2 separate regions of the Homo sapiens genome follow, and region 1 is linked to region 2. The links are contacts of gene promoters, found by promoter capture Hi-C in human tissues and cell types (Jung and others, 2019). All regions are on one chromosome and are shown on one strand. Each heading gives the region's core, a stretch centred on a gene start or on the middle of the fragment in contact. The rest is flanking DNA. Distances are from core to core; before and after follow the strand shown.

Region 1 (3,431 bases), core at 134-2,633, 56 kb after region 2:
TTTCTCACGTAACCAACAGTGTTGGCATTGGTTTGGCAGCTCAATGATGTTAATATCTCTTGATTCCTTTGGGCTTCCCTTGTAGAAACAATGGCTGCCCCTACCCTAGCCATCCTATCCATGTTCAAGGCAGGAAGAGGTGAGAAGGGAAGTGTCTGCTATGACTCTATTTTTTCAGGAAAGTCATGTCTCCAAACCCTCTCCTTTTATCTCATTGGTCAGTCTTAGTTGAAATCGATGTTCTTATCTGCAAGGGAGGATGGAGATCGTGGACAAGTCCTTGTGATTAGCTTGGACGTAGACCATCTCCTGGGGCTGAACCGTGTCACCCTGAACACTACCTGGGTTCTGCTTATAAGGGAGGTGGGAGAAGGAATAAATAGAGGGAGGGCAGCTCATGGTGTCTTCCCTGAGACTGTGTTATAGAAAAGCAAGGGACCTACAGGGGATGACACCTTCCTAGTTGAGGATGATACACTTAGGGAAGATTTGTAACCGGGTGGCCCCATGTCTCGTGGCCCCATGTCTCATGGCCCCAGGTGGATAAAGCAGCCCTTGAGAAACGCCACAGGCAGGGCTGGCTGATGGAAGTGACTGACAGCTTGGACCGCTGCATCCAGAGGCTCAGGTACAGCTCCAAGCTCAACTCCGGACACCTGACACCTGACACGTGGCAGCAGGAGACCACAAGAGGACCCCCATGGGGCAGCTTGGTGTGGGCCTGTTTAATGCCTGACAGCTGGCTACATGTGGGCACCACACATACATGCACATGTACATATACATGCGCACACACACACACACGCACACAAGGGCTGACCCGCGGGTGGTGATAGGGCAGAAGCCTCTGGAAGGGCCTCCAACATTCCGTCATTGCCGGCTGCAGCCACTGGGCTGTGGGCTTGGTGTCAGACACTTGGCCTTGATGGGCTTCAGGTAGCCTTCTTGGGGCTCCCATGCTCTTACCTGGTTCTGCGAAGCATGAATCTTCTTTTCCCTGCTGTGTGGGCTCGCAGAGCCACCCGGCCTGATAGGGGCTGCCCTGCGCTGTTGCAGTGGCGAGCCTGTGAGGCGTGCACTCCCTCCCTGTGCTCCAGGGCAGAGCTTCGCCCACGGTGCTGAGGGGCAGTCGGTGGGTTTCTCCGCCTCAACCCTAGGCAAAGTCTTCAGAGGTATTTCAGTGGGATGGTGGGAAGACTGCCTTGGGGGCTCCTGCTCGGATGCCACTTTTGAAGCATCCTCTCAATTAATTTACTGCCCAGAGCAGAGTCCTGTTACGGGAAGACACATCGGTGCAGTGGTTGCCCACCTGGCTTCAACTAGAATCTCCACAGGGGCTTAAAAGCTGTTTCTGATGAAAATGTAAACAAAATTTGAGAAACGATGCAGTGAACTATTTTGACCTATCATTCTAACATACCAATCCAACCACATTGCACCCTCTTTAGAACTCTCAGATAATTTTTCATCAATGATAGAAGAAATTCCACACTCCAGGTGTGCTGTGAGGGGCTTCCCCGACCTAACTCCCATCCCTATTCAGGCTGTTTAGCATCCTGAGTGTGTGCATGTACACACACACACACATAAACGCACACACATAAACACACACAACATGCATGCACACACATATAACCACACAGACACACCCACATACATAAACACACATATAACACACACATAAACACACAACACACACATGCACATACATACACAGAGAATGCAGCACACACATGCACACAAGCTTGCACACACAAACACACAACACACATGTAACACACATGAACACACTTAACACACATAAGCACACATACACAGAGAACACAGCACACACATGCACACATACTTGCACACACAAACACACACAACATACACATGCATGCACATAAACAGACACATAACACACAACACATACATAGACACACACATAAACAGACACACAACACATGCATGCACACACAGGCACACACAGAGTGCACACATGCACACACATAAACACACACATACACATAAATACAGACACAGACATACACACATGCACACACAAACACAAACATGCATAAACACATAACTCATGCACAAACATAAATACAGACATAACACACACATGCATACACACTAACATGCATAAACACAATACGTATGCACACACATGCACACACAACACACAATGCACATATACATAATAAACACAAACACATAACACACATACATGCACACACAACACATAAACACATGTAAACACATGTACACAAACATGCATGTAACACAAACACACAAACGCACACAACACACATGCACACATGCATAAACATGCACAGAGACACACAGCACACACAAACACATAAACACACAGGCGCACACACACATAAACACACAGACACATGCACACACCATAAACACACACAGACACACACACAAACACACGCAACACACACACGCACATGCCCATAACATATATTCTCACATGCATACATACACATATGCATATACACGCATATATACATATATATGTACAAATGCATGCACATCCACACATGAACACACACACATACACATACATCAAAATCAGTTTAAGGAACTGTCTCGAGCAACCTGTCTGCCACACTTCCGCAACCCCCGAGCTGAGGAAGACCCATGGGAATGGAGTGAGCTCTGCTCACGGTTCCCACAGGGTCCTTCAGCTGGGATTGCAACAAGCCCTGGGCTGGGCCGGCCTCCCTGCTGCCCTGGGACTGTGTGTCCTTTCCTGCTTTGTCAACCTTGCACCCCTGGGGGAGGGGAGGTGCCTGGCTCCCTCGGGCTTCTCCAGGCCACTCCTGGTAAGCATTCAATCTGCTCTTTCATGGGGACCATACCACCTTCCCTGTGCATTGCTGCTTTTTGATATCTCTACTACCTGCAAGGCCTGTTCAAATCTTCTGTTTCCCAAAATATGCTTTGATTTTTCCTGTCCTATTTTTCCGAATAATTTTGGGAATCATCTTTAGTGAATCCTGCAACTCTGGGACCACCTTGGGTGGGTTCTGTAAAGATCCCTGTGGAGGACCCACATCAATAACCCGAATTCCATGGATCGCCCAGGCAGTTTTGCCACTGCCATGTGGGTTTTCTGGTCTGGGGAATTTGGGTCTGGATTTTCCCTTTATAGTTTTGTGTCCTGGACAAAAGTCGGGGTCCTGCAGGCATGCTTCATGGCCCAGCCCCATGGCCCCCACGTTTGCACACAACACCTCTGGTGGCCTCCTGGGTCTGCCCCTGTGTGCAGCTGGGGTGCAGGTGTGTCTGGGGCACCTATGCACAGGTGCAGGGGGCACCTGTTCTGCTTTTGTGTCCTTCCAGGGAAGCAAGGAAAAAAAAGGAGGTGCTCAGCCTTGGTTACCATGGCAACGTGGTGGCTCTTTGGTGAGTGGGGGTTGGGAGTTGATGGC
Region 2 (3,654 bases), core at 478-2,977:
ATGTTATGGTATGCAGAGAAAGCAGTGCTAAGAGGGAAACTTGTAGCTATTAATGTCTACATCTTAAAAATAAGAAGGATCCCAAATTAATGATCTAACTACACAATTTAAGGAATTAGAAAACGAAGAGCAGACTAAATCCAGAGCTAGCAGAAGTAAGGAAATAATGAAGGTTAAAGATAAATCAAGTCGAGAATGGAAAAACAATGGAGAAAATCAACAAAACCAAAAGGCGATTTTTGAAGTGATCAAAATTAACAAAGCTTTAGCTAGATTGACTAAGGAAAGAAAAAGACTCAAATTAGTAAAATAAGAAAGGAAAGTGGGAGGTATTACTACTGACCATACAGAAATAAAAAGGATTATGAAAGAATACGCCAAAAAATGTCACGCCAACAAATTGGATAACCTAGATAAAATGGACAAATTTCTAGAAACAAAAAAAAAAAAAACCAACAAGACTGAATCAGGGAGAAATAGAAAATATGAATAGACTCATAACTAGTAAAGAGATTGAATCAGTAACGAAGAAAAGCCCTGGGCCACATGATATCACTCGTGAATTCTAACAAACACTTACTAAAGAACATACATAAATGTTTTTCAAAGTTTTTCTAAAAGTTGAAGAGGTGGGACCATTTCCTAACTCATTCTGTGAGGCCAGCATTGCCCTAATACCAAAGTCAGACAAAGACCCTACAAGAAAGGAAAACTAGGGGCCAATATCCCTTATGAATACACATGCAAAAATCCTCAATGAAATATTAGTAAATGAAATTCATCAGCATATTAAAAGTGTTACACACTATTAACAAGTAATATTTATCCCTAGAATGTAAGGATTATTTTTTCATAATGAAAATATCAATGTACTACACTACATTATTAGAATGAGGAGGAAAAGACATGATCATTTCAATTGATGTGGAAAACACGCTTGACAAAATTGAACACTCTTTCATGATAAAAACACTCAACTCCTTAACATGATAAAGGCAATATATCCAAAAATCCCACAGCCAACACCATACTGTATAGTGAAAAACTGGAAACTTTTTCTCTAAGATCAAGAAGGAGACAAGGATGCCCACCTTCCCCAGTTCTATTTAACACAGTACTGGAAGTTCTAGCCAGAGCAACTAAGCAAGAAAAGGAAATATAAAGCATTCGAATTGGAAAGGAAGAAGTGAAGTTACCTCCGTTCACAGATGGCATATAGAAAACCCTAAATAATCCATAAAAACCCTGTTAGCACTAATAAGTAAAAAGCCGTAGGGTATAGCAGACAGTGGCACAGGTGAACAGCACTAATAAGTGAAAAGTCGTAGGGTACAGTAGACAGTGGCACAGGTGAACGGCTGAACCACTTCCAGTTCAGCTCCTTCACTGCCTTCTCCTTCCTCAACCCCCTGCAACCTGGTGTCCACTCCTCCACAGAAACAGCTTTTCTGCAGCCTCAGTGTCTGTACCTATTTCTGGGCGTCTCTTCTGTATGCAGAACCTGAACAGGGAGAGGTCTCTGCTATGAAGAGTGCAGATGTGGATGCTTCTGTCTGGGTGCGTGGAGCTGAGAGGCTGGCCAGCCCTGGCCCATGTGCTGCTGACTTTGCAGTCACTCCCTGGGCCAGAGGGGCTTCAGGCTGGAGTCTGAGCCTCATGGGTCAGCAGCTGTGATGTCACCAATTGTGACCTCAAGGGCTTCTGACCTTGCAGTGAGCTTGTTGGCACTGCCTGTCCGGGGACCCTGGGGCTGCTGTTCCTGTGGTAATGTGGCAGCTGGGACCATGGCCAGCTTCAGTCTGCCTGGCGTCACATAAGCCAGCCCACAGGGTCCTGCAGCTTGTCCTTTCTGGCTGGAAGCTCTGGGCATAGCCTGGGACTGGGTCTTTCCAGAGAGGGCTGTAGCCAGGGCCCTGCCAGCCTCGGGGGCCACAGCGGCTCTCACACCAGCATCTTGCTGGATAGGAGCAGTTCCAGGACTCTCTGATCACACCTGATCATCGTCACTGCCAGAATTCAAGGTAGCTGCCTGGTGAGTGCTAGCAGCCTGTGTGGCTGGAAAGGACAGTCCCCAAGTCGGTTAGGGACTTGGGAAGCAGCAACAGGGTGGCGGAGAAGAGCCTGGGACAGGGTCATGATGGCAGAGGGCAGCCCTGGACTCTGCAGCAGCCCTGTCCCTGTGGGGCAGATTCAGCAGTCAGCTTACAGGGTCATCTCCATGACCTAGGGGTCAGGTGGGAGGGTATGGGGTGGGGCTGAGGGGCGCTCCTGTCTCCCTTGATCCCTCAATTCCTGTGGTAATGCTGCTTCCCCGGTTCAGGACTGTTTGAGGCTGCATGGCCCAGCAGGAGGAGCACAGGCCACCCATCCTGAACCTCTTCCCCGACTCACTGTGTGAATGCAGGCAAATCAGTTAACTTTCCGGAGCCTCAGTTTCCTCACTTGAATTATGGGGGTGAGCATAATACGTTCTCCATCAGGTAGAAAAAAAATGAAGTGAGGTTATGCATAGAATGTAGCAGACACTTAGAGGCCACAGGCACCATTCTGCAGCCTCCTGCTGTGGCCCTGCTGCCTGTCCCGGCCCAGGCTTCCCCTGCCCCGCACTCCTCAGGGTTGAGCCTGGGCTGGAGGTGACTCACCCAAGTGCACCTGACAGGAAGGGGCTGAGCTGGGGCCTGGCCCAGGCTGTGGCTGCAGGACTGTGGGCTTAGGCCCAGCGAAGGCATCCCAGAGTCCTCAGAACAGCCAGGGCTGCAGGGGCGGAGGCCACCAAGACCCCCTTTAGCCAGCACTGGTGTAGAGAGCTGCACCCTGTACTAGACTAGTGGGCAAGTCAGTGGGGAAGCCTGCCCTTCAGGGCCCAGGGACTTCTTGGTGCGGGCAAGGGACAGGTCGTGAGCAGGGCTGGCAGTATTTCTGGGCCAGGGCAAAGGCCCTCTGGATGGCTGATCTTCCAGAGTCAGAGATGGGGCACGGAGGCGGTGGGTGAGCGGGTGTGTTCTGGCTCACAGACAGGCTGGTCTCCCATGCCATGGCCATGGTCCCAGTGGCCTGTGTTCAGTGTCCAGTGTGCAGCCTCCCGCCTCGGGCCTTGAGTGATTCCACACTTGGCGGCAGGCAGCCTCCCAGCTAGCCCAGTACCCCGCCCTCAGAGGGATGGATGAGCAGCATGGCACATTATGGGATCACTGCCGAGCAGTCTTGCCCGAGCCCACCGGCTTTTGGAGGACTCCGGAATCCCAGATTTGGAAAGGGCTACCCGTGTTCCCCAGGGGCTCCTCTCCAGACATCATCGGATTTTGAATCATGCCAGGTGTGGTAGTAGGTCACGCCAGCTGCTTTGAATTGGGAAGGGAAGCAAGGTGCGTTATGGGCTGGTGGGGGCAGCCTCTGCCTTGGACCAAGGAAGCGAGGAGCTCCCAGGTCACGCAGCAGAGGATAGGGACAGAGCTGAGGCCAGCCACACCCAGATGGCCACCTGCCTGTGTGTGGGGGTGTGTATGAGGTCAGGTCTGAGTGTGAGTCTGTAAGAGTGTCTGTATGTGTCTGTGTGTGAGTGTGAATCTGTGTGTGTGTGAATCTGTGTGTGAATGTGTGAGTCTGTGTATGTGAATCTGTGTATGTGTATGTGAGTTTGTGTGGGTCTGTGTG

Evidence for each region. Contacts are between HindIII fragments. The study calls those that stand out against the background at their distance.
Region 1: a fragment that was not itself captured here is called in contact with the fragment with the promoter of C3orf22 in region 2 in 4 of the 25 tissues and cell types used here (H1 embryonic stem cells, aorta, heart right ventricle and 1 more).

What each region holds. Positions count from the first base shown.
Region 1 is chr3:126,501,192-126,504,622 of GRCh38, reverse strand. UROC1 (urocanate hydratase 1) reads left to right here. Exons shown (of 20, transcript NM_144639.3): 9 at 540-628; 10 at 3,343-3,405. Among named protein-coding and RNA genes, the nearest start is that of UROC1, 15 kb to the left of the region's middle. The HindIII fragment of the contact is 6,165 bases long and covers 1-3,431 here.
Region 2 is chr3:126,557,005-126,560,658 of GRCh38, reverse strand. C3orf22 (chromosome 3 open reading frame 22) reads left to right here and starts at 1,727. Exons shown (of 4, transcript NM_152533.3): 1 at 1,727-2,032. LOC105374090 (a long non-coding RNA gene) reads right to left here and starts at 1,646. Exons shown (of 3, transcript XR_924455.2): 1 at 1,470-1,646. The HindIII fragment of the contact is 13,796 bases long and covers 1-3,654 here.